Linked DNA regions of Homo sapiens: all the other regions are linked to region 4. Evidence: promoter capture Hi-C in 16 types of primary human blood cells and fetal thymus (Javierre and others, 2016). All regions are on one chromosome and are shown on one strand. Each heading gives the region's core, a stretch centred on a gene start or on the middle of the fragment in contact. The rest is flanking DNA. Distances are from core to core; before and after follow the strand shown.

Region 1 (2,700 bases), core at 104-2,603, 430 kb before region 4:
CAGCCCCTGCTATGGAGTTACACTGAGAAGGAAACCCCTGGAATTTAGTTTCACCCCTACACTTCCAATGGAATTTTTCTGTTTCTTTAGAGGTGGGCAAGGGCCCTTGACAATAAGGAAACTTTCAGACTTGTCTAAGGTCCCACAGAGAGTGCTTGATCCACCTGAGCTATCACACCCCACAGGGTATACACAAGTGTATTCTTTTTTTTTTTTTTTTTTTTTTTTTTTTTGTGACAGGGTCTCGCTCTGTTGCCCAGGCTGGAGTGCAGTGGCGCCACCTTGGCTCACTGCAACCTCCCTCGGGTTCAGGCGATTCTCCCACCTCACCCTCCCAAGTAGCTGGAATTACAGGCCTGGCTAATTTTTTGTTTTGTTTTGTTTTGTAGAGGTGAGGTCTCACCATGTTGCCAAGGCTGGTCTTGAATTCCTGGGTTCAAGTGATCCTCCCGTCTTGGCCTCCCAAAGTTCTGGGATTACAGGCATGAGCCACCGCACCCGGCCCTGATTCCTTTTTTTATTCTAGCTTCAAGATTCAGTTCTACCGTTATCGGCTGTGTGACTGGGTAAATCACTACACCGCAAGCCTCGGTTTCCTATTTACCAAATGGGTCGAATAATGCCTGCCACATGGGGCTGCTCTGAGGAGTACAGATGTAAGAGATCCTGTGTTCACTGATATTTTCATGTGGGCTTTTTGATAATGATACAAAAGGAACATGAGAACTGTGACTTCTAGGCCGGGCGAGGCGGCTTACTCCTGTAATCCCAGCACTTTGGGAGTCCGAGGCAGGCGGATCACCTGAGATCCGGAGTTCGAGACCAGCCTGGCCAACATGGTGAAACCCCATCTCTAGCAAAAATACAAAAAATTAGCCAGGCGTGGTGGCAGGCGCCTGTAATCCCAGCTACTCGGGAGGCTAAGGCACGAGAATCGCTTGAATCTGGGAGGCGGAGGTTGCAGTGAGCCGAGATCGCGCCACTGCATTCCAGCCTGGGGGCCAGAGCGAGACTCCGTCTCAAAAAAATAAAAAATAAAATAAAAAATTGTGACGTCTCACTCAGGATCAGCGTCTTTAAGTGGCCACCTCCCCACCCCACCTTCATGCCTCCCTCCTCCTTGAATCGTGTGTTAGAACGCTGTGATCTGGTCCAAACTCCACGGAGATGCGATGCGATGCGAAGCGATGTTGGGCAATTTCAACTCCCTGTCTCGGTCGCCACCTAGGATTACTGCATGTTCAGCTACGACCTCATCAACATGGCTGCTGGAAGTCGTCTACAGGAAAAAGAAAGAAATGACACTGAAGGATCACTTCCGCTTCCGTTGGCGCAAGCGCTTTCATTTTTTCTGCTACCGTGACTAAGATGGAAGCGTTTTTGGGGTCGCGGTCCGGACTTTGGGCGGGGGGTCCGGCCCCAGGACAGTTTTACCGCATTCCGTCCACTCCCGATTCCTTCATGGATCCGGCGTCTGCACTTTACAGAGGTCCAATCACGCGGACCCAGTAAGTTCTCGGCGCTTTCGTTTGCGTAGCGGGAGGGACCGTGGGGCCTGGTGCTGCCGGCTGGTTTTGAGAGCCCGGGAAGGTGAGGCGGGGACCCCGGGGGCGCGCGAACGGCAGGGGAGCTCAGGGCGCGGAGTCCTGGAGAATGCAGAATAATTGGAAGGAATTATAGAAAATCAGAAGCGCAGCTCAGTGCGCGGAAAGAGGGCGCAGTCCATCCCCCCTCTCAGCTCCCACCGTTCTCACTCTTTAGGAACCCCATGGTGACCGGGACCTCAGTCCTCGGCGTTAAGTTCGAGGGCGGAGTGGTGATTGCCGCAGACATGCTGGGATCCTACGGCTCCTTGGCTCGTTTCCGCAACATCTCTCGCATTATGCGAGTCAACAACAGTACCATGCTGGGTGCCTCTGGCGACTACGCTGATTTCCAGTATTTGAAGCAAGTTCTCGGCCAGATGGTGTAAGTCATCCAGAGAACAGGAGAGTGGTTCCCAAGTAGAGAGGGGAGTCCCCTGTTTTTTATTCCCTTCGATGGGATGGGGGGACTTGTTGCAGCGGGGGACTGGAAGAGTTGTTGGAGGTGGGCGATCTGTGTTTGCAATAAAGTTTTTGGCATTAGGTGTAAAATGGGGGAAGGTGTGGTAACTTCTTTTGGGGATGGGTGGAGACCCCGACTTAATTCTCTCCCTTTTCTCACAACCAATTCCTTTTAAGGATTGATGAGGAGCTTCTGGGAGATGGACACAGCTATAGTCCTAGAGCTATTCATTCATGGCTGACCAGGGCCATGTACAGCCGGCGCTCGAAGATGAACCCTTTGTGGAACACCATGGTCATCGGAGGCTATGCTGATGGAGAGAGGTTCATATGAATACAAATAACTTATTTCCTTTACCACCCAACCTAGTACCTGTGTAGTATCTCTTCTGTCTCTTCTCCCCAAGTGAATCCCACTTTAACTCAGACCCCATGGTCCCCTTCTTCAGCTAAGATGAATCTAAGGTGAAATGAGTTTTGACCCATTGTGTCCTGTTAGCTTCCTCGGTTATGTGGACATGCTTGGTGTAGCCTATGAAGCCCCTTCGCTGGCCACTGGTTATGGTGCATACTTGGCTCAGGTAAGTAGTAAGTCTAGAGGTGGGGGAAAGGGAAGACAAAAGGAAATGGATTAGTGGTTGTCTGCTTTTCTCCT
Region 2 (2,700 bases), core at 108-2,607, 410 kb before region 4:
CCTGAGTAGCTACGACTATAGGCGTGCGCCACCACACCCAATTTTTGTATTTTTTTTGTAGAGACGGGGTTTCTCCATGCTGCCCAGGCTGGTCTTGAACTCCTAAGCTCAATCTGCCTGCCTCGGCCTCTCAAAGTGCTGAGATTACAGGTGTGAACCACTGCACCTGGCCCGGTTGATTCTAATATACATTCTACTCCCAAATGATTAGTCCAAAGTTTCACTGTCTAATATGGTGGCACCAGCAACATGTATCTAGTGAACACTTAAAATGTGGTAAGCTCAAACCCAATTTAGATTTGTATTTCAAAAGATCTGTTTTTTAATGGAGGAAAAAAGAATGACGAATATCTCATTAATTTTAAATTTTGAGTTCATGTTGAAATATTTTTAATATACTGAATAAAATATGCTGTTAAAATTAATTTTGCCTGTTTTTTTAAACTTTACAGTAGACGCCCTTTGCCAATGGGAAATATACGTTCCAAGACCCCCAGTGCATACATGAAACCTCAGATAGTATTGAACCCTATACATACCGTGTTTTTTCATATATATATATATATATACCTATGATAAAGTTTAATTTATAAATTAGGCAAAGAGATTAACAATTAAAAATATATAATATATAAAAGGATAATTATAACAATATACTGTAATAAAAGTTATGTGAATGTGGTGTCTCTCTCAATAATCTTATTGTACTGCACTCACCTAGTTTTGGACTGTGATTGAGACTAAAATTGAGGATAAGGGAGCGCTACTGTATTTAAAGTGAAAAAAATTAAAATTACTCATGAAGCTTGCATATTTCTACTGCCTAGTGTTACTGTAAGCCATTAATGTCAATCCCACTTCCCTTGCCAATAAATGGTCAGAGATATAAAAGGAAAGCAATTCTCACTCATAAGAAAACAGATTCAAGAAAGAAAAATTGAGGATAAGGGAGCGCTACTGTATTTAAAGTGAAAAAAATTAAAATTACTCATGAAGCTTGCGTATTTCTACTGCCTAGTGTTACTGTAAGCCATTAATGTCAATCCCACTTCCCTTGCCAATAAATGGTCAAAGAGATATAAAAGGAAAGCAATTCTCACTCATAAGAAAACAGATTCAAGAAAGAAAGATGGGAAGATAAGATCTCTTCTTTGTCTAACAATTTTTTATCTGGACATAGTGCCTGACACTTATACAGCCACCCTGCTATGAGCCAGAGACAAGAGAATTGTTGAAAACCAGCAGGGCAGTCAAATTCTAGGCTGAAGCATCCATTTCTGTATCTCTCAGTTAAATGATATAACAGATATTCTTATTGTTTTCTTTTGTTTTGAGACAGAGACTCGCTCTGTCATCCAGGCTGGAGTGCAGTGGTGCGATCTCAGCTCACTGCAACCTCTACCTCCTGGGATCAAGTGATTCTCATGCCTTGGCTTCCTGAGTAGTTGGGATTACCTGCGCACACCACCACAGCCAGCGAATTTTTGTATTTTTAGTAGAGATGTGGTTTTGCCATGTTGGCCAGACTGGTCTCCCCTGGCCTCAACTGATCCACCCACCTAAGCCTCCCAAAGTGCTGGGATTACAGGTGTGAGCCACCACACCCAGTCCTTATTGTTTAATTCATTTTTAGTTAAGGATTTTTACTTGTAGCAAATGCATCCAGATAATATGCATATGTCTTCTATGCTTTTGATCATGCTGTTTTCAATCACCTAAAAGCTTTTCTTACTACTCTCCATCCATCTAAACCTTTCTTAAATTTAAGCACGACTTTCTTGGAAACCTAGCCACAAGGATTTTTTCCCTTCTCTGAAGTATTTCACCTATCAATGATATCTTAAAATGTCTATGTTTATAATATACTATCTTGTTCTCACATTTTCCTATATTTACATAATTTTTGTCTTTACAACAAAACTGGAAATCCCGTAAAGGACATGAGAAGTATTCTCAATACTGGGCTTAAATCCTCACTATGTATCCCCAGTAGAGGTGTATTTAGAGGTGTACGCTCATAAGCAAATGACTCAATTTCTTTGAGCTTATGTTCAGCCTACATCTATCTATAAAATGTACAGTGTAGAAAAACATTCCAGCTTACCTTATATTTCACTGAAAGCACTGTCTTAATGATAAAGTACTTCATAATATTATCTTTTTTTTTTTGGAGATGGAGTTTTGCTCTTGTTGCCCAGACTGGAGTGCAATGGCATGATCTCAGCTCACTGCAACCTCCGCCTCCCGGGTTCAAGCGATTCTCCTGTCTCAGCCTCCCGAGTAGCTGGGATTACAGGTGCCCGCCACCACACCCAGCTAATTTTTGCATTTTTAGTAGAGATGGGGCTTCGCCATGTTGGCCGGGCTGGTCTCGAATTCCTGACTTCAGGTGATCTGCCTGCTTCGGCCTCCCAAAGTGTTGGGATTACAGGCGTGAGCCACCGTGCCCGGCCATATTATCTTTTATCCTACTTAATTTCTTTGAGCTTATGTCCAGCCTACATGTATAAAATATACAGTGTAGAAAACACTCCAGCTCATCTTATATTTCATTGAAAGCAATGTCTTAATGATAAAGTACTTCACAATATTATCTTTTAGCCTACATAAAACCTATCAGGGTTTAACTAAAGTGGAAGAGCAAATAGATGACTGTTCCTTCTATAAAGAGACCTAAGAAATAAATTAATTACATTTGTT
Region 3 (2,700 bases), core at 40-2,539, 360 kb before region 4:
GAGCTGAGATTGTGCCACTGCGCTCCTCCCTGGGTGACAGAGCAAGACTCTGTCTCGAGAAAAAAAAAAAAAAAAAAAGTTATGCTTCATTCCCTATCTTCCTAGAGAAATGATACATTTCTCAATAATCCTATATGAACATATGTGCCCAAAGAACTAGAGTTTCTTCTCACTCTAACATGTGGCTTACTATTATTATATTACTATTACTATATTACTGTTATTATTATTATTTTTGAGATGGAGTCTCACTGTGTTACCCAGGTTGGAGTGCAGTGGTACGATCTCAGCTCACTGCAACCTCCGCCTCCTGGGTTCAGGCAATTTTTCTGCCTCAGCCTCCTGAGTAGCTGGGACTACACCCGCGTGCCACCACACCTGGCTAATTTTTGTATTTTTAGTAGAGACGGGGTTTCACCATAGTGGCCAGGCTGGTCTCGAAGCCCTGACCTCATGATCCGCCCGCCTTGGCCTCCTAAAGTGCTGGGATTACAGGCGTGAGCCACTGTACCCGGCCATTATTATTATTATTTTACTTCTTCCTTTATCTTTGCCCAAGATGTTCTTCGACATGTAGGAAAGTCCAGGAACCTCTAGAACCCCATAGATGATCAGATAGTCTAGTTACTTCAGCCAGTTGAGTTGATATAATTGGCATTAAGGAGGTTATTTTGATTCTCCAACCTTGCAAGAATAGTGGCTCTCCTGGGATGCCTGCCTTTACTATATTGACTGTGGCTCACTGAATATTCATGTACTCTCATTTCCCAGCCTCTCTTGTAGCTGTATCAGGGCCTCAAGATTGAGTCCTTGTAAATGGGAATGTAAGTGCAATTGATGGATTACTTCTGGCCCAGAATGTTATTCCTAGCCTAGAAAGTGAATCTTAACCTTTTTTTTTTTTTTTTTTTTTATGAGACAAAGTCTCTCTCTGTCACCCAGGCTGGAGTGCAGTGGTGTGATTTCAGCCCGCCACCACATCCGGCTAATTTTTTGTATTTTTAGTAGAGACGGGTTTTCACCATGTTAGCCAGGATGGTCTCGATCTCCTGACCTCGTGATCTCTTAACCTTTTTTTTGCATTTTTTAGTAGAAATGGGGTTTCACCATATTGGCCAGGCTGGTCTCGAACTCCTGACCTCAAGAATGTTCTGGGCCAGAAGTAATCCATCAATTGCCCTTCAATTTAAAGGTTGACATGCCTCCTCTTTTCCCATCAAATGGGATGGTAGAACCAGAGTATGGAAGCATCCTAGATTCCTGAGTCACCCCATGAAGTAGAGTTGAACTAGTGAGTTGCCCAGAATACATCAGACTTTACCAGAATAACAACAAAAAAAATTTATTGTGCTAAATCACTGAGATTCCAGGATTAATTTGTTAATGTAGGATAGCCTAATTATACTGACTAATAAACGGGTATAAAGGTTGGACTGAAAAAATAAGAAGTTCCCAGGACACTTTTATGGTTAAGAATGTGAGACAAGGCCAGGTGCAGTAGCTCACGCCTGTAATCCCAGAACTTTGGGAGGCCAAGGAGGGAGGATTGTTTGAGTCCAAAAGTTCAAGAGCAGCCTGGGCAACGTAATGAAACCCTATCTCTACAAAAAGTAAAAAGTTAGTTGGGTGTGGTAGTGCGTGCCTGTAGTCCCAGCCACTGGAGAGGCTGAGGCGGGAAGGCTGCTGGAGCCCAGGATTTTGAGGCTGCAGTGAGCTACGATTGTGCCATTGCACTCCAGCCTGGGTGGCAGTGTGAGACCTGTCTCTAAACAAAACAAAACACAACAAAAAAGAATGAGAGACAACATGGTGAACTGGATAGAGCCTGATATTAGTTACATTGCAGGGTTGTTATATTAGAGATATAATATATAAAATGTCTAGGCCAATACTTTACAGTAGTTACTCCATAAATGATAGTTTTTACCAATAATTCTTAAGATATAAATATTTTATGGGACATGATAACATTTGACTATACTCATGGATGACAGGCTCCCTATTCTGATTCTTCCCGAGATTTCTTACCTTAAGGTATCTCTTCTAAATACTTTGGGTCTTGGGCTCAAGCATCTTTTATAAAATTGCTTGAAGTAATAACTTCCAAGAAATACGTAGTTATTGTTCTTAATCAGTCAAGCATTTAGTAAAACCCTACTATTTCTTCCACATGTTAATTAACAAAATAGGTAACGTAATATTGCCAAGTGTTAATTTGTGTGGCCCAGGCAATTAAAGAATATGACATATAAAATGATGTTAAATGTATGAGACAGACAGTACCTTCTGGCAAGAGATAGGAAAGATCTGTGCAGGCTCAAGTCTTCGGTGAAAAATTCTTGAAAGGAGTGGGCTCAGACCTTGTCTTAAAGAAGGGGCAGGATGTAGATAAATGAGGGAAAAGAAGAAAGGCATTCCACGTGGGCAGCAGATTAATAAAGTTACTGATAAAACCAACAAAGAGGCCGGATGTGGTGGCTCACGCCTGTAATCCCAGCACTTTGGGAGGCCAAGGTGGGCGGATCACGAGGTCGGGAGTTCAAGACCAGCCTGGCTAACATGGTGAAACCCTGTTTCTACTAAAAATACAAAAATTAGCGAGGCATAGTGGTGTGCGCCTGTAATCTCAGCTACTCGGGAGGCTGAGGGAGGAGAATCACTTGAATCCGGGAGGCAGAGGTTGCAGTGAGCTGAGATTGT
Region 4 (2,700 bases), core at 88-2,587:
TTCCTACATCCACATAGCAGCTCATCACAGAACACATGGCCAGTCTTTTGTCTCAGAAAGCCCTTCAACCATGCCCTATACCCCCTATAGCTTCCCTAACCTCTGACTCTATTCTGTTATTTTTTTCCTTCTGCTGTTCAGTCTTGACACCTGACATACACACACACACACACACACACACACACACACACACACACAGTGCCCTTCTGCCCGGGAGATGCTCCCCACTGGCAGGCCGTGGTCACTAGGCTGTGTGGAGGCGAGTGGCCTGATGGCCTGGGCTCTGCTGGGGTGAGGGAGGAGAAAAGACTGCCCCGAGGTGGCAAGGCCCCACCCAGCCCCGCCCACCTCCCCTTGCTCCTGCCTGGCCCCACCCAGCTTCCTCCCTGACGTGGCACCGGCTCCTGGCCTCTAGCCTTGCACCTCAGAGCAGTCCTGTGGTGGGGGTGCTCCCCTTGCTCACCCAGGCAGCCAGTTCTTCCTCCACCAGGTGGCCCTGGAGCTTGGTGGCTCTGGCCCTCAAACTTTCCTCCTCCATGCTCACAGCTGACCAAGCCTGTGGCCCTGCGATCCTGCTCTGAGGGGGTTCCTGACTTGGACCATGGGTGGGGCCAAGGACGGCCTGACATTCTGTCCTTCCCTGCTGATGGCCCAGTGCCCCACATTCTCTGCAGAGATGAAATCCCACATCCCTGGGTGAGTGGCGAGGAAAGGACCAGGCTACGTGGTCATGGGCAGCTGACAGGGTGTGGTTCCCCCTGCCACACTCCCCAAGTCTGTCACTCCTTAAAGGACAGGTTTCTCCACTGGTGAATGAACAGAAGGTGGAGCAGCCAGCCTCCCGGCCACTGCTGTCTGGGGTCCTGGCCAGATCAAGGAAGCAGTGTCCCTGTGCCTCCTGGGGGGTAAGCCCACACCTGGGAGGGCCTGTCCACATTCTGACCCCTCGCTGGGTCTAGATCTGGCTCCCCTGACTTGGCTCTTCCCTCCCCATCTACCCTCCAACCTGTTTCTTCCTTCTCCCGCTTCTCCCTTTCTTTCCTGTTTCTCTCCTTTTGCGATTTCTTCTCCTCTGTCATCTCCCCAGCCCCTCCTCCTGTTTCTCCTCCAGTTTCACTCCCTGCCAACCCAGGGCTTTCTCCTCTGCACTCTTGTCCCTCCCTCCCCTCCTCACTTCTTGCCCAGTCTCTTGCCATTTCTGCCCTCCTCTGAACCTCCAGCAGTCTCTTCCACCTGCAGGCAGGGCCATGGGCCTCTTACCCCGTGAGGCTCGGTGCTGTCTCTGTGGGGCCCTGTCCATGGGGCAGCTCCCTTGGTGCCGTCCTGGCTGCCCTGGCTGCCCAGGAGGGCAGGGAGCAGGGCCCAGGGGAGGGAGGAGGGCGGAGGGTGGAAGGCGGGAGCACCTGGCCCTCCAGCAGGCAGGGAAAAGGAGTGGCTGGCAGAGTGTCCTGGCACCAGGAGGGGACATGAGGAGAGACCAGTGGACCAGTGCATGGAGCCTTGAGGAGAAACAGGACAGGAGAAAGGAAGGGAACTAGCATTTATTAATCACTTACTGTGTGCTGGGCCCTTTGCAGGACACTTTATGTAAATCCATGCTTTTACTTTGTGTAAATATTCACAGCACCCACCACAGGGAAACATTATTATTCCAGATTGATCAGTGAGTGGAGGGATTCTCAGAGATATTAATGATTTTGCCCAAGGACTCACACAAGAACAATAAATGGGTGAGCTATGATTTGGACCCAAGTCTTTGTGACTTTAGAATCCTGTGATTTCTACCTAAGACAGGTGACAGGCATAGGGGAGATGGAGAGGGCAGGTTTGGGGGACTGTGTCTCTTCTCTAGGATGCAGTCAGACTCCTCCCAGTGACTGTTCAGTTCCCTGAGGCCTCTGCCTGCTCGGCCCCTGCCCCTAACCCTTGCTGCTCTTGCCAGGACTCCCTGACCCCCTGATGCTTCTACGTGCTCCTCATCTGTTGGGGCAAGGGGCAGGCCTGGAGGAGTGCCTGGAGGCAGAGAAGCCATGGTGGGGAAGAGGAGAGGAGAGATGCTGCACTGGACTCATTGGGAGAAGGAGAGGCTCCCAGACCTAGTGGCCCACACTGAGGCCTGCAGTGAAGGCTCTGAAGGGGGCCAAGAGGACGAGGCTTCTGGGGATCCTGGTGCTGCTTTTCTCCTGCATGGCCTGGGCCCAGAGTTTGATTAGCTGGGCCTGACTCTCCTGGTTACCCAACAAGCAACTGGCCAGGGGCCAGGCTGCAGCAAGAGGCTCCCTGGCACCTCCTCCTGCTCTCGTTCCCAGCTGGTAAACAGCAGAGCAGGAGTCAGCCATGCCACAGCCTCGTGACTCGCCCACTCCCCCCCACCTGGTGCACGTGGCACCTGGCATGGAGAGGGCAAGCAGCTGTCCCTTCCCTCTTCTGCCGTCTCGTCTCGCCATCCTCCACTCCTGCCCAACCCTGGAGCTTCACACTCTGCTACCATCAGCACCTCTGTTCTTAGGTAGCTCCCAGAGTCTCCCCATGGCTGCAGATTGAGAGATAAAGGTAGAAGTGGAGAAGGACTTTTCAACTCCTAGGGTCATTGACAGTGGATGAGTAGTGAGAAAGAGGAGGGGAAGTTTTGGGGACCTTCTGCACTGAGTCTAAGGGTATGTGCCTATGCCTCTGAGGCTCTGATTATCCCCCGTGTTC
Region 5 (2,700 bases), core at 73-2,572, 450 kb before region 4:
CATTTTAATTAAAACTACATAAAAATTAAGCTATATAGTTTTAACTAGTTAAATTTATATTTATTTATTTATTCATCCATCTATACGTTCATAGAAAAGGATTTGGCTTATGATTGATGTCAGTATTTTGGGAGGCTGAGGCAGGCAGATTGCTTGAGCCCAGGGGTTTGTGACCAGCCTGGGCAACATAATGAGACACCGTCTCTACAAAAAATTAAAACAATTTAGGCCTGGCAGGCTCCTGTAGTCCTAGCTACTTCGGGGGTGGGGAAGGTGTGCTGAGGTGGGAAGATTGTTTAAGCCCTGGAGGTCGAGGCTGCAGTGAGCTGTGATTGCACCACTGCACTCTGGTCTGGGTGGCAGAGTGAGACGCTGTCTCAAAAAAAAAAAAAAGTAGGCCGGGCGTGGTGGCTCACTCCTGTAATTCCAGGACTTGGGGAGGCCGAGGCGGGCGGATCACGAGGTCAGGAGATCGAGACCATCCTGGCTAACACAGCGAAACCCCATCTCTACTAAAAATACAAAAAAAAAAAAAAAAAAAAAAATTAGCCGGGCATGGTGGCAGGCGCCTGTAGTCCCAGCTACTTGGGAATCTGAGGCAGGAGAATGGCATGAACCCGGGAGGTGGAGGTTGCAGTGAGCTGAGATCGTGCCACTGCACTCCACCCTGGGCGACAGAGCAAGACTCCGCTTAAAAAAAAAAAAAAAAACCTAAAGAAAAGGATTTGTAGAGATAAAGCTTCCCTTATCATGCCAAATGTAGCTAACAGTGGTTACCTCAAGAATTGGATTACAGGGAGCAATTTTTATTTTTCACATTATGTATCAATCATATTTTTAAAATTTTATATTAAGTTTGAAATACATGTGTAAACAATTGAAACAGTGAAAGAATACAGTAACATTTTTGCCTATAAGATGGGCAAAAAATTTAAAGGTTAAAATCTTGTATTGGTGAGACTATGCGGCAAAGGGACCACTCATTTAGGACTAATGAGAGTGTCAATTGGTGCCTTACTAACAAAAACAATTTGTCAATACCTCACAAAAGTTAAACTGTGCATACTGTTTTACCTAGGAATTTCACTTCAAGGATGCAATCCCATGGAAATACCTGCACAAGTAGGCAAGAAACAGGTACAGGTTGAGGCGGTGGCTCACGCCTGTAATCCCAGCACTTTGGGAGGCTGAGGCAGGTGGATCCCCTGAGGTCAAGAGTTCGAGACCAGCCTGGCCAACATGGCAAAACCCTGTCTCTACTAAAAGTATAAGAATTAGCCTGGCGTGGTGGCACACACCTGCAATCCCAGCTACTTGGGAGGCTGAGGCAGGAGAATCACTTGAACCTGGGAGGTGGAGGTTGCAGCGAGCCAAAATTGCACCACTGCATTGCAGCCTGGGGCGACAGAGGGAGACTCTGTCTAAAAAAAAAAAAAAAAAAGAAAAAAGATATAGGTACAGGTTGAGCATCCTTAATCTGAAAATCTGAAATCCAAAATGCTCCAAAATCTGAAATGTTTTGAGCACCAGTGTGACACCACAGGTAGCAAATTGCGTGCCTGACCTCACGTGTTGGGTCACAGTCAAGACTTTGTTTCATGTACAAATTATTTAAAATATTGTATAAAGTTACCTTCAGGCTATGTGTATAAGGTGTTTATGAAACACAAATAAATTTGCGTTTAGACTTGGGTCCCATCCCCAAGATATTTTAATATATATATATGTATTCCAAAATCTGAAAAAAATCTGAAATCTGGAACACTTCTGGTCCCAAGCAGTTTGGATAAGGGATACCCAAACTGTAATAATAAAATAACAACAGCTATCATTTATTAAATACATGGTACTGTTCGAAGTACTTAGGGATAAAGAAAGAGAAATGAACCACATCCACCTCATATAAAAGCTTTCCATGTGCCAAGTACTTCTCTGAGCTATTTGCATGTTCTGCCTTTACTTATACAGGGTTTACAACATCCCTATGAAGTGGGTATTTTCATTATGTCCAATTTACAGATAAAGAAGTTACAGCATAGAAAGAGGAAGCAACTCATACAAAGTTACACAGCTAGTGAGTAGCAGAGCCCAGGATCTGAAGCCAGGCAGTAGCTTCAGGCTCTGGCCTGGGACCTCTATGCACATAAGTTCGCAGCCCCTTCAGACAGAATGCTTTTGTGTTTTGTTGCTTGGATGGCTGGCCAGCACATTCAGCCCTTTCTATATTGGGTGGGAGGCAAAAGGCCAGATACTCACCGTCCCAGGCCTTAGGCCTCCTTGCTGCTAGGAGCAAGCATGTGACTTGGTCTTGGACGCAGCCAGGTGTGCCCACCGGAGACTCCAACACAAGGAAGTAGGGAGTGGGTTCTGGTTGCTGCAGGGAAGGCTGGTGTGCGGGTGGGTCACCATGCTGCAGAACCTCCCAGGGTCCAGCGCAGCTGGTGGTGCCATGGCAGCACATAGAACTTGAGGGGTAGAGGCAGTGTCCTTTGATTGGGATCTAGGACAAGAAAGGGCTCTCTGGCTGCAACCACTTCTGCCACTGGGGCCTTATGATCGAGCAGATCCAGTGATGCTTGGTGAGTTGGGGTGATCCATGGGATGAGGCAGGCAAGAGGCAGAAGGAGAGTCCCCAGGGTGACCCCAAATGATTGAGCCCAGCCCACTTCAGCAAAGAACAGTTCTCTTGAAAAACAGCCT
Region 6 (2,700 bases), core at 20-2,519, 480 kb before region 4:
TGAGGCAGGAGAATTGCTTGAACCTGGGAGGCGGAGGTTGGGTGAGCCGAGATCATGCCATTGCACTCCAGCCTGGGCAACAAGAGCGAAACTCCATCTCTAAATAAATAAATAAATAAATAGCAAGCCAAATATGGATATAGACTGATGGAAAGATAGCCCTAACACCACTGTTTGGTATGAAGGAGAACCTAGAGCACTTTGGTTGCAAACAGAGTTTTGGGTAAGTTATCTAGCTTAAAAATTTGCAGATAACAGGGAAAAACTGGAAGCTTTAGTAAGGGGGGAGAAAGTATCATAGTACATAGTACCTAGTAAAAGAGATGATTTTGACAGCACTATAGAAGGTAGAGTTGAGTGAAAGAAAAGGCTAGAGATAGGAAAGAGGAAACTATTAATTTATGCCAGGCATTGTGTTAAGAGCTAGGGATACAAAGCTGAATAAGGTATGGTCCTTGCCTTGGGCAGTAACAATAAAAATTGTCCGGATAAGCATCATATAACAGCAAGTATTTATACAGAGCCTAATATGTGTTGGGGCCCGTTCTTTTTTTTTTCGAGACGGATTCTTGCTCTGTCACCCAGGCTGGAGAGCAGTGGCGCAATCTCGGCTCACTGCAAGCTCTGCCTCCCAGGTTCAAGTGATTCTCCTGCCTCAGCCTCACAAGTAGCTGGGACTACAGGCGCCTGCCACCACACCGGGCTAATTTTTTTGTATTTTTAATAGAAACGGGGTTTCACCATGTTAGCCAGGATGGTCTCTATCTCCTGACCTCGTGATCCGCCCGCCTCAGCCTCCCAAAGTGCTGGGATTACAGGCGTGAGCTACCGCGTGCGGCCTCAGATAGATACTATGATTATCCCCATTTTACAGGTGAGGAGACAGGCATTGAAAGGTTAATAATTTGCCCAAGATTACATCATAATTTAGTAAGCTATGGAGCCAGGATCTGCACCTAGGCTCTTTGCGTTGCAGCTTTTTTTTTTTTTCCTTTTTAGACAGAGTCTCACTCTGTCATCCAGGCTGTAGTGCAGTGGCTCCACTGCACTTGGCTCACTGCAACCTCTGCCTCCCAGGTTCAAGTGATTTTCCTACCTCAGCCTCCTGAGTAGCTGGGATTACAGGCGTGTGCCACCACACCTGGCTAATTTTTGTATTTTTAGTAGAAATGGGGTCTCACCATTTTGGCCAAGCTAGTCTTGAGCTCCTGACCTCAAATGATCCACCCACCTTGGCTTCCAAAAGTGCTGGGATTATAGGCGTGAGCCACCATGCCTGGCCTGTTGCAGCTTTTTCACTCTTGCTGTTTGGAGAGTGGGAGGGAGTGTTCCAGCATTTTCACTTCAACTGCTGGTGGACTCTGTATTCTTGTCCCACGACCAAGAAGAATAAGGTGTGTAGACACTGGAGAGTGAGTAAGGCAGTCAGATTTATTTATTTATTTACTTATTTATTTTATTATTTTTTTTGAGATGGGGGAGTCTCACTCTGTCACCTGAACTGGAGTGCAGTGGCATGATCTTGGCTCACTGCAACCTCCGCCTCCCGGGTTCAAGCGATTCTCTTGCCTCAGCCTCCCAAGTAGCTAGAACTGTAGGTGCCTGCTACCACACCCAGCCAATATTTTGCTTTTTGTTTTTTTTTTGGCGGGGGGGCGATGGAGTTTCACTCTGTTACCAAGCTGGAGTGCAGTGGCACAATCTTGGCTCACTGCAACCTCCACCTCCTGGGTACAAACAATTCTCCTGCCTCAGCCTCCCAGGTAGCTGAGATTACAGGCGCCTGCCACCATGCCCAGCTAATTTTTGTATTTTTAGTAGAGATGGTGTTTCACCATGTTGTCCAGGACGGTCTCAATCTCTTGACCTCATGATCTGCCCGTCTTGGCCTCTCAAAGTGCTGGGATTACAGGTGTGAGCCACCGAACCTGGCTAATTTTTTGTATTTTTAGTACAGACGGGGTTTCACCATGTTGGCCAGGCTGGTCTCAAACTCCTGACCAGCCAGAGTCAGATTTATTAAGCAACAGAAAAGCTCTCAGCAAAGAGGGGGCCTGAAAGAGGATTGCCAGCTATGAGGCTGAGTGGGAGGGTGAGGAGGGTGGCTTATGGACTGGGAAAGGGAGGAGTGTGCTGATCGGGCCTGCAGGCTATCTTGCAGAAAGCACCACTCAGAAAGAGGTATGATAGTGTAAAGAACCAGTTGGAGGCAGAAGTGAAGGCTTGGCTCAACAACTTGGCCTGGAACCAAGTCAGGGGCTGAAGTGAAAGCTTGGGCCAGGACCTTGGCCTGGAACCAATCAGGGGCTGAAGTGATGATTCACCCTATGTAAATGAAGACTCCCGCTGTGGCCAATCACAGAAAGGTAAGCATATGTAAAATAGATGAAAACTAAGAGACTAAGGTGTGCCAAAGAGAGTGAAATATGTCCAAAAAGGGAGTGGTATTTGTTCATCTGGGTTCCTAGAGTAGGTATTTCCATTCCAGGATGCGGGCTGTCACTTATCTGGGGCCTGCAGTTTAATTTTCAGGCTGTTCTTTGTTTGAAGGAGTTTTACCAAGGACCCACCTTAACTGCCTGCCTGACTGGTTTCTTCTTTCTCCTCTCTCATTTCATTCAGAATTTGCTCTTGGACACTATTATACATTGCCTACTAAGATTGGGAGTGAATTTTTTTTTTATTTTTTAAGACAGTGTC
Region 7 (2,700 bases), core at 31-2,530, 340 kb before region 4:
GGGAACCATGCTTGGCTTAATGCCCAGCATCCTAATCGCAAGTCCATTCCCAGAGCTAGAAGTATCAGCCTCCCATGAAAATGAAACCTAGAAAACTCCAGGCAGTTGATAAGACTTTTAAGTACATGATATGAGGCTCTCAAGAGAAGAAATGGGAATCCCCTCCCAAGGACCTCATCATATAATTAATCCATTTAAGCAATCAAAAGGCAGAACTGTATATTCTTATTACATGCATGACTATAAGCATGATTCTAGAGTCAGACTGTCAGGGTGTGAATCCTGCTACTTACTGTATGACCTTGGGCAAGTTACTTAACATCTCTGCACTTTGATTTCCTCACTTAAAATGGAAATGATAATACTTCATAAGGTCATTATGAAAATCAAATGAGGTAATATTTGTAAAGTAATTAAAATAGTAATAGTAAGTGCTAAAGTGCTTTTAAATAAATATATACAAAACAATTATAAATTTACAGTTATAATTTATAAATAACATATAAGTGAAACATTCATCTTGTGGTTTAGCCTCATAAGAATTTATAATTGGAAAAAATTATAGAAAAAAAGAAATCAAGAAGGGTTTCACTGAAGTAGTGAAACTGAGCAATTGGTAGGATTTGAGTAGCCACAGAGGTGTGGCCTAGATCTGGGGATCAACAGGCAAAAGTATGGAGGCAGCAACTGGCATGGCTGGGGCCAGATAAGGTGGAGAGTGAGAAGGAATGCTAGCCAATAGGACTGGAATTGGAGAGTAGGGAGACATAGGTGGAGACCTGATTATGTAAGACTTTGAAAGTTAGATTTGCTGTAATAGGCAATGGAGAATTGTTGAGATTTTCCAGAGGGAAATGACATGATGAAAGGGAAGTTTTGGGTGGTCACAGTGGCTCACACTTGTAATCCCAGTACTTTGGAAGGCCGAAGCGAATGGATTGCTTGAGTCCAGGAGTTCAAGGCCAGCCTGGGCTACATGGCAAAATCCCATCTCTACAAAAAATACAAAAATTAGCCAGGTGTTTTGGCACGTGCCTGTAGTCCCAGCAAAATTTCTTTTGCTGCTCTCTGCATGTCTGTGGATGACCATGAAAGCACCTTGAGTATTCTTTTATTTTTTTCCTTCCTTCCTTCCTTCCTTTCTCTCTCTCCTTCCTTCCTTCCTTTCTCTTTCCCTCCCTCCCTCCCTCCTTCCTCCCTTACCTCCCTCCCTCCCTCCTTCCCTCCCTCTTTTCTTTTCTTTTCTTTTCTTTCTTCCTTCCCTCCTTCCTTTCTTTCTTTCTTTTTTTTTTTTTTTTTGGGCAGGGTCTCACTTTGTCATCCAGGATGGAGTATAGTGGCGTGATCTTTGCTTACTGCAGCCTCAACCTTCCAGGCTCAAGTGATCCTCCTACCTCAGCCTCCTGAATAGCTGGGACTACAAATGCATGCCACCACACTTGGCTAATTTTTATATTTTTTGTAGAGACAGGATTTCACCACATTGCCCAGGCTGATCTCCAACTCCTGAGCTCAAGCAATCCACCTGCTTTGGCCTCCCAAAGTCCTAGGATTACAGGCGTGAGCCACTGAGCCTAGCCAGGATATCTGTTTTTTTGTTTTGTTTTGTTTGTTTGTTTGTTTTTGAGATGGAGTCTCACTCTGTTGTCCAGGCGGGAGTGCAGTGGAGTGATCTCAGTTCACGGCAAGCTCCACCTCCTGGGTTCAAGCGATTCTCCTGCCTCAGCCTCCTGAGTACCTGGGATTACAGGTGCCCGCCACCACGCCCGGCTAATTTTTGTATTTTTAGTAGAGACAGGGTTTCACCAAGTTGGCTATGATGATCTCGATCTCTTGACCTCGTGATCTGCCCACCTCAGCCTCCCAAAGTGCTGGGATTACAGGTGTGAGCCACCGTGCCTGGCTGATAATTGTATTTCAAATAATAGTTACTGCATAGTTGCTCTCCAAAAAGTTTGTACTGATTTTTGCTCCTATAAAGAATATTTGAGAGTGCCTATTTTCTCACAGGTGTCAACTCCAGGAATTTCCAAACCTTAAAAAATTTGCCAGTCTGATAGGCAAAAAATGATATCTTGTAGTCATTTTAATTTTTTGCTTTGTTTTGAGACAGAGTCTTTGTCTGTCTCCCAGGCTGGAGTGCAGTGGCACAATCATGGTTCACTGCAGCCTTGACCTCCCAGGCTCAAGGGAGCCTCTCACCTCAGCCTCCCAAGTAGCTGGAACTACAGGTATGCACCACCATATCTGGCTAATTTTAAAACTTTTTGTAGAGTCTTGCTATGTTGCCCAGGCTGGTCTTGAACTCCTGGGTTCAAGTGATCCTCCTGCCTCAGCCTCCCAAAGTGCTGGGGTTACAGGCTTGAGCCACTGCCCCCGGCCTATAATTTACATCTATTTAATTTGCATCTATTTAGTATGTGTGAACATTTTCCCTATGTATTTGGTCATTTTCTTGTTTTCTTTTTGTGAACTGCCTGTTTCTATCCTTTGTTCATTTCCTTATTAGGTTGTTTGTCTTTACTATTTCTTTTTTCATTTTTATTTTTGGAGACGGTCTTGCTCTGTTGCCCGGGCTGGAGTGCAGTGATGTAGTTATAGCTCACTGTAACCTCAAGTTCTGGGTTCAAGTGATCCTTCCAGTTCAGCCTTCCAAGTAGCTAGAACTACAGGTGCTCACCACTATGCCAGCTTATTAAA

Evidence for each region. The method cuts DNA at HindIII sites, captures the fragments that hold promoters and counts their contacts. A CHiCAGO score of 5 or more calls a contact.
Region 1: the fragment with the promoter of PSMB4 here is called in contact with the fragment with the promoter of RORC in region 4 in 4 of 17 cell types (M2 macrophages, M1 macrophages, M0 macrophages and 1 more); the score reaches 7.9 in M2 macrophages.
Region 2: a fragment that was not itself captured here is called in contact with the fragment with the promoter of RORC in region 4 in 3 of 17 cell types (erythroblasts, M2 macrophages and M0 macrophages); the score reaches 6.2 in erythroblasts.
Region 3: a fragment that was not itself captured here is called in contact with the fragment with the promoter of RORC in region 4 in 3 of 17 cell types (endothelial precursors, M2 macrophages and M1 macrophages); the score reaches 5.6 in endothelial precursors.
Region 5: a contact is called between a fragment that was not itself captured here and the fragment with the promoter of RORC in region 4, in 3 of 17 cell types (M0 macrophages, endothelial precursors and M1 macrophages). The highest score is 7.9, in M0 macrophages.
Region 6: a contact is called between a fragment that was not itself captured here and the fragment with the promoter of RORC in region 4, in 1 of 17 cell types (M1 macrophages). The highest score is 5.3, in M1 macrophages.
Region 7: a contact is called between a fragment that was not itself captured here and the fragment with the promoter of RORC in region 4, in 9 of 17 cell types (M1 macrophages, erythroblasts, M2 macrophages and 6 more). The highest score is 12.6, in M1 macrophages.

What each region holds. Positions count from the first base shown.
Region 1 is chr1:151,398,220-151,400,919 of GRCh38, forward strand. PSMB4 (proteasome 20S subunit beta 4) reads left to right here and starts at 1,354. Exons shown (of 7, transcript NM_002796.3): 1 at 1,354-1,508; 2 at 1,762-1,968; 3 at 2,223-2,369; 4 at 2,545-2,626. The coding sequence starts at 1,369. RefSeq lists enhancers at 711-1,433, 1,034-1,083, 1,434-2,155 and a silencer at 1,924-2,081. The HindIII fragment of the contact is 7,561 bases long and covers 1-2,700 here.
Region 2 is chr1:151,420,439-151,423,138 of GRCh38, forward strand. The region is part of intron 10 of POGZ (pogo transposable element derived with ZNF domain); the gene reads right to left. Among named protein-coding and RNA genes, the nearest start is that of PSMB4, 22 kb to the left of the region's middle. The HindIII fragment of the contact is 726 bases long and covers 995-1,720 here.
Region 3 is chr1:151,466,688-151,469,387 of GRCh38, forward strand. No RefSeq gene overlaps it. Among named protein-coding and RNA genes, the nearest start is that of POGZ, 8.5 kb to the left of the region's middle. The HindIII fragment of the contact is 5,152 bases long and covers 1-2,700 here.
Region 4 is chr1:151,830,465-151,833,164 of GRCh38, forward strand. RORC (RAR related orphan receptor C) reads right to left here and starts at 1,338. Exons shown (of 11, transcript NM_005060.4): 1 at 1,261-1,338. The coding sequence starts at 1,300. RefSeq lists an enhancer at 1-646. The HindIII fragment of the contact is 14,534 bases long and covers 1-2,700 here.
Region 5 is chr1:151,379,180-151,381,879 of GRCh38, forward strand. No RefSeq gene overlaps it. Among named protein-coding and RNA genes, the nearest start is that of SELENBP1, 7.8 kb to the left of the region's middle. The HindIII fragment of the contact is 1,170 bases long and covers 738-1,907 here.
Region 6 is chr1:151,349,947-151,352,646 of GRCh38, forward strand. No RefSeq gene overlaps it. Among named protein-coding and RNA genes, the nearest start is that of RFX5, 4.0 kb to the left of the region's middle. RefSeq lists a silencer at 1,254-1,454. The HindIII fragment of the contact is 1,999 bases long and covers 271-2,269 here.
Region 7 is chr1:151,486,030-151,488,729 of GRCh38, forward strand. No RefSeq gene overlaps it. Among named protein-coding and RNA genes, the nearest start is that of CGN, 24 kb to the right of the region's middle. The HindIII fragment of the contact is 3,303 bases long and covers 1-2,700 here.